2 separate regions of the Homo sapiens genome follow, and region 1 is linked to region 2. Evidence: promoter capture Hi-C in 16 types of primary human blood cells and fetal thymus (Javierre and others, 2016). All regions are on one chromosome and are shown on one strand. The core of a region is centred on a gene start or on the middle of the fragment in contact, and the rest is flanking DNA. Distances in the headings are between cores, read along the strand shown. Region 1 has its middle 46 kb from the start of SLC9A9. Region 2 holds the start of LNCSRLR (lncRNA sorafenib resistance in renal cell carcinoma associated).

Evidence for each region. The method cuts DNA at HindIII sites, captures the fragments that hold promoters and counts their contacts. A CHiCAGO score of 5 or more calls a contact.
Region 1: a fragment that was not itself captured here is called in contact with the fragment with the promoter of LNCSRLR in region 2 in 3 of 17 cell types (megakaryocytes, M2 macrophages and naive B cells); the score reaches 7.5 in megakaryocytes.

What each region holds. Positions count from the first base shown.
Region 1 is chr3:143,893,161-143,896,152 of GRCh38, reverse strand. No RefSeq gene overlaps it. Among named protein-coding and RNA genes, the nearest start is that of SLC9A9, 46 kb to the right of the region's middle. The HindIII fragment of the contact is 1,075 bases long and covers 764-1,838 here.
Region 2 is chr3:146,067,847-146,070,819 of GRCh38, reverse strand. It overlaps LNCSRLR (lncRNA sorafenib resistance in renal cell carcinoma associated), which reads left to right and starts at 1,635. Exons shown (of 2, transcript NR_146297.1): 1 at 1,635-2,001. PLOD2 (procollagen-lysine,2-oxoglutarate 5-dioxygenase 2) reads left to right here. Exons shown (of 20, transcript NM_182943.3): 20 at 1-1,380. The coding sequence ends at 103. The HindIII fragment of the contact is 7,145 bases long and covers 1-2,973 here.

The DNA.
Region 1 (2,992 bases), core at 52-2,551, 2.2 Mb after region 2:
ATGAAACTTAATGTCTTTTCAGTGATTTTCTAATAATATAAGAAAAGAGTTTGACATATTTTGCAGTCACATTCATTTACATTGTAAGATGGATAAGCAAAATAAAAAATATTGCACTGTGACTGTTAAGAATTTTTTGTACCATGTGCAAAGAGAGACCCCTGCTGGAACTTTTTTTTTTTTTTTTTAATTAGAATGTCTAAACCAACTCAGATGAACTGTATTGTTAAAGAAATGCACAGGTACACCTGAACTTAAAAGTTAAAAAAAAAAAAAAAACACAAAAGAGAAATAGCGATGACTCTGCAAGCTGTAAGATAAAATTTCTGAATACATTTTACCCCAAGACAAAGGAATTTTTTTTTTTTTTTTTTTTTGAGATGGAATCTCGCTCTGTGGCCCAGGCTGGAGTGCAGTGGCACGATCTCGGCTCACTGCAAGCTCCGCCTCCCGAGTTCACGCCATTCTCCTGCCTCAGCCTCCCGAGTAGCTGGGACTATAGGCGCCCGCCGCCACGCCCAGCTAATTTTTGTCTTTTTAGTAGAGTTTCACCGTGTTAGCCAGGATGATCTCAATCTCCTGACCTCGTGATCCGCCCGCCTCGGCCTCCCAAAGTGCTGGGATTACTACAGGCGTGAGCCACCGCGCCCGGCCGACAGAGGAAATTTTTAACCTCTCCACAAGAAAATTTCCACAGCAGGGGAGATTTTGGGGTTTTCTTTGATATGTTTTTCTCTGCTTATTTTCTTTTGATCTCCAAGCTTGAGTAACAATAGGTTCTAGCTGTTATCTGCCTGTCTTGACATATCTGCGGAGGTGGTAATTGACCCCAAAGTGAAAACCAGAGGTTCACAGTCAGATGGATCCATATCACTTACACTTTCTCTACTATGTGACTTGATTTATTCCAAAGTTCAGTACTGCATATTCGCTCTTTACTGGGATTTTCCTGGTGATATATTGGGAGTGTGTGGATGTAAAGGATGGAAACTGGATTTCCAGTCAGTCTCTTGTGGTGAGGTGGGCCAGTGAAGACAACAAGCAAGAGAATCTGGAATTGGAGCAATAAATGCATGGGTGTTGTCCTGCCTGAAGTGGAAAGGTAAAGGCTGGAACAATTCCCTGTCCCAACTCCCAAGCCCTTGTGAAGGTTTTGAGGGTTCCTTAGGCAGAAAATGTGGCATGCCCAGAGGGATTCAGGTGCATAAGACATGGAAATGATAAAACTTTTAGAACCTGAACTGCTCTAATTTTACCTAAAGCTCCCCACAAACCCCACTCCATGCATAGCTTCTCTATGTTTCCTCTCTCAGAAAAATACTACAAAAAAGCCCTCCGCTCCCCACAAACCCAGGATGTTACCATATTCACATCTCCTTCTGCTTCACTTGGACCACCAGTCATCAAATTCTGTTGATCCCCAATTCTTAACATGTTCCGTATCCATTTATTTCGGCTTCTGAAATGCTCTGGGGCTGCTCCGTGAAGTTGTAATTTTTCACCTGGACCACCATGACAGTCTAGGAATTGGTGCCTTGACCTTATCAATTCTTCAAATAGCAGGGATAAAATCATAGCTCTCTTATGATTCAAATATTTCATCTCAGTTCTTTTGAGGTCAAAACTTCTTGGTACAACATAAAAGGCCCGTTCTGATCTGGAAACATCTTAGGGTTTTCGTTCTATCTCTTGGTAGACACTTCCCCACCTTTCTATACTCAGACATTCCTAGCTGCTTGGGGTTTTCTGACAATATCTGCATATGCTCTTCTAACAGGAATACCCTTTGCCTGTTATTTACCATGCCAACTGCTTGTAACTTCCTCCGTTTTGAAGCTTTTATAATCCTTTGCTTCCAACCCGTTGAAAAGAACCATTTCCTCATGCTACAACTATAACCTGTACATACTTGTATGGTCACCCCTTTGCCAGTTTCTTGAACCTATTTATCTACCTGCTGCTTTCTCCAAGCTGGAAGGTAATCTGGGCCACACCTGCTTCTGACTGATATTCTTAGTGCTTAGCCCAGGGTCTGGCCCTAAAAGGAGCTCCTTAAATACTGGTTAAATATGTAGTAAGAGGCTTCAAGGACTGAACCCCAGTGATTCTGAAGGAGTGACTGCTAGAGATGTAGACAATTATTTGTTGTTTTAGCTAAGAAGTAGCCTAAATTTAATTTTGTGAAAAATATATTAATGGCCCTTTTGTTAAGCAAAGGTAAAGACAAATTAAATTTCAGAATGTCCAAGCCAGGACACAAAAAAGCTAAGCTGAGCTACATTAGCAAGTGCAGTAGAGTCTCTTCATTTTTGTCAGAGTGGCATTTTTGCAGAGATTATCATGGCATTCAAGGGGCATCACGCTAGAGATAGGTTGGGATAAGGATATAATGTTCCCCTCCCTTGTGACATGGTCAAAGACACTTACAGCTACAGGCAGTAAGCTGATCTCTAAAACATGTCATCCCCTTGGGCTAAAGAGACAAATGGGCAGCAGACCTGACCAAGGGAAGGAAAGAGTTGAAATATAAAGATATTTGCTTTTTCCTTTCCTATATTTTTATTTCCCTCTGTAAGCTCCAAGCCTTCAGTTGCATTAAGCACTCTAGCTGGTTTCAGTTGAGCTTTGGGGAAATATGTGAATAACATTGTCTACTCTCAGGACAAAGCAGCTTAGGAGCAGTCAGGGCATCTCATGATGTCCACTCATCTGGGCTGAAGGAGTGACAAAAAGAGCTCTTTCTACCTCTTACAACATCCTTATAAGAACTAGGAAACGTGCCCATTCTTCTTCAAAGGTAACTCTTTACTTGCCTCTGCCAGGAAATGGATTTGGTATATTAATTTGTTAAAACAAAACCCTTAACTCCCATCTGCCAGAAAACTGTTACAATAAATCTATGATGTCTATAATGAAAATGATGCCCCTTATATGTGGTGCCCTTGTGCATTACAGAATCTGCATAGCCAGACACAGCATCTGTGTTAATGAG
Region 2 (2,973 bases), core at 386-2,885:
AGGCTGGAGCTTCATGCATCCTGGGAGACTCACACATTTGCATGAAGGACTTCCTGTTAAAAATGGAACAAGATACATTGCAGTGTCATTTATAGATCCCTAAGTTATTTACTTTTCATTGAATTGAAATTTATTTTGGATGAATGACTGGCATGAACACGTCTTTGAAGTTGTGGCTGAGAAGATGAGAGGAATATTTAAATAACATCAACAGAACAACTTCACTTTGGGCCAAACATTTGAAAAACTTTTTATAAAAAATTGTTTGATATTTCTTAATGTCTGCTCTGAGCCTTAAAACACAGATTGAAGAAGAAAAGAAAGAAAAAACTTAAATATTTATTTCTATGCTTTGTTGCCTCTGAGAATAATGACAATTTATGAATTTGTGTTTCAAATTGATAAAATATTTAGGTACAAATAACAAGACTAATAATATTTTCTTATTTAAAAAAAGCATGGGAAGATTTTTATTTATCAAAATATAGAGGAAATGTAGACAAAATGGATATAAATGAAAATTACCATGTTGTAAAACCTTGAAAATCAGATTCTAACTGGATTTGTATGCAACTAAGTATTTTTCTGAACACCTATGCAGGTCTTATTTACAGTAGTTACTAAGGGAACACACAAAGAATTACACAACGTTTTCCTCAAGAAAATGGTACAAAACACAACCGAGGAGCGTATACAGTTGAAAACATTTTTGTTTTGATTGGAAGGCAGATTATTTTATATTAGTATTAAAAATCAAACCCTATGTTTCTTTCAGATGAATCTTCCAAAGTGGATTATATTAAGCAGGTATTAGATTTAGGAAAACCTTTCCATTTCTTAAAGTATTATCAAGTGTCAAGATCAGCAAGTGTCCTTAAGTCAAACAGGTTTTTTTTGTTGTTGTTTTTGCTTTGTTTCCTTTTTTAGAAAGTTCTAGAAAATAGGAAAACGAAAAATTTCATTGAGATGAGTAGTGCATTTAATTATTTTTTAAAAAACTTTTTAAGTACTTGAATTTTATATCAGGAAAACAAAGTTGTTGAGCCTTGCTTCTTCCGTTTTGCCCTTTGTCTCGCTCCTTATTCTTTTTTTGGGGGGAGGGTTATTTGCTTTTTTATCTTCCTGGCATAATTTCCATTTTATTCTTCTGAGTGTCTATGTTAACTTCCCTCTATCCCGCTTATAAAAAAATTCTCCAACAAAAATACTTGTTGACTTGATGTTTTATCACTTCTCTAAGTAAGGTTGAAATATCCTTATTGTAGCTACTGTTTTTAATGTAAAGGTTAAACTTGAAAAGAAATTCTTAATCACGGTGCCAAAATTCATTTTCTAACACCATGTGTTAGAAAATTATAAAAAATAAAATAATTTTAGAAAGTTTTGTTGTTCTATTATTGGTGTTTATCTTCCAACGTGAATACATGATGGAATTGTCTGAAAGAATGAAGCCTTTGATTTTTCATTTTGCTTAGTAGATTTAATGATATACGAAACTATTGAATTATAAATGAAATTATAAAATCTTCAATTTTAGGATGACTAGGGATTTGATCTAACTCGTTTTCCAAGTGAGAAAATAGAAGCCAAATGTTATTCAATATAGGTTTATTTGTTTATTAATATTTTCTGGGTCTCTATTATGGGTCAGGCACTGTTCCAGGCACCAAGGATATGTTGATGAAGAAGACATTATAGTCACTGTGAGATGGACTTAAAAAGATAAGGAAGTTGGTTCTACTCCTGTTCTCTTCTTTGGCGACACTTAATACCCAAAGAAAATTTCTACTATCCATCAACTAGGATAAGGAGACATTTTAGTAATGATTTGTGAATTATGTTACTGTACATCAGGAATGGTTTTCAAAATATGTAACACCTGGTATGATGTAGATGCCAACTCATCGGAACAGACTCTGGTTATAAAAGCAGATCGGTTCGTTCCTACCAGTGCAAGCCAGCTTAATATCTCTTGTGGTACAGTTCAAAGACATCTCCCAGGTACTAGTTATTTTCCATTTTGGTATCCATGGGTGGTTACTTAGCATAACTATTTCAGTCTCATGCCATGTTTTCAGAAATGGGATCCAGGTAGTCTATTGAGCACAGTTTTTTTGTCTTTCCTCTTATCCTACATTCCATGAAATAATATAAAATGTAGCTTTAAAAAGATGATTCATAATTACTGAGAGAAAATTAGAAAAATTCCCATAAGTAGATTAAAAAATTTGAAAAACGGAAAACGAGTAGAATTGGAAGGATGGAGAAAAATACAGCTTGAAACACACAGAGCAGAAGATACAGAAAGTACATCTATTGTTTGATTCATTCATTTTATGCAATATAATAAAGGCTTTTTAAAAAAAATACACACACACACCCATATATATAAACAATTATCCCCTGAATAATATGGGCGTTAGAGGCACTGATCCCCATGCAGTCGAAAATCCACATGTACCTTTTGACTCCCTCAACACTTATCAACTAATAACCTACTGTTGACTGGAAGCCTCACTGATAACATAAACAGCTGATGAACATTTATTTTATATGTTATATGCATTATACACTGTATTGTTACAATAAGCTAGAGAAAACGTTATTTAAAAAATTATAAAGAAAGATAAAATATATTTACTATTCATTAAGTGGAAGTGGATCATCATAAAGGTTTTCATCCTTGTTGTCTTCGCGCTGAGTAGGCTGAGAAGGAAGGGGAAGAGGAAGGGTGTCTCAGGGGTGGCAGAGACAGAAAAAACCGGCATACACATGAGCCCGCGTAGTTTAAGCACATGTAGTCCAAGGGCTTATTGTGTATCTGCAACAATCAGATATCTCTGACAGATGAACCTGATAAAGTCACACTATTTAGAGTATGATACCATTTATGTTAAAAACAAAATACTATATATGTGTGCATAAACCTACAGAAAATTTCCTAGAGAGGAACAACTCTGGAGAGTGGTATGA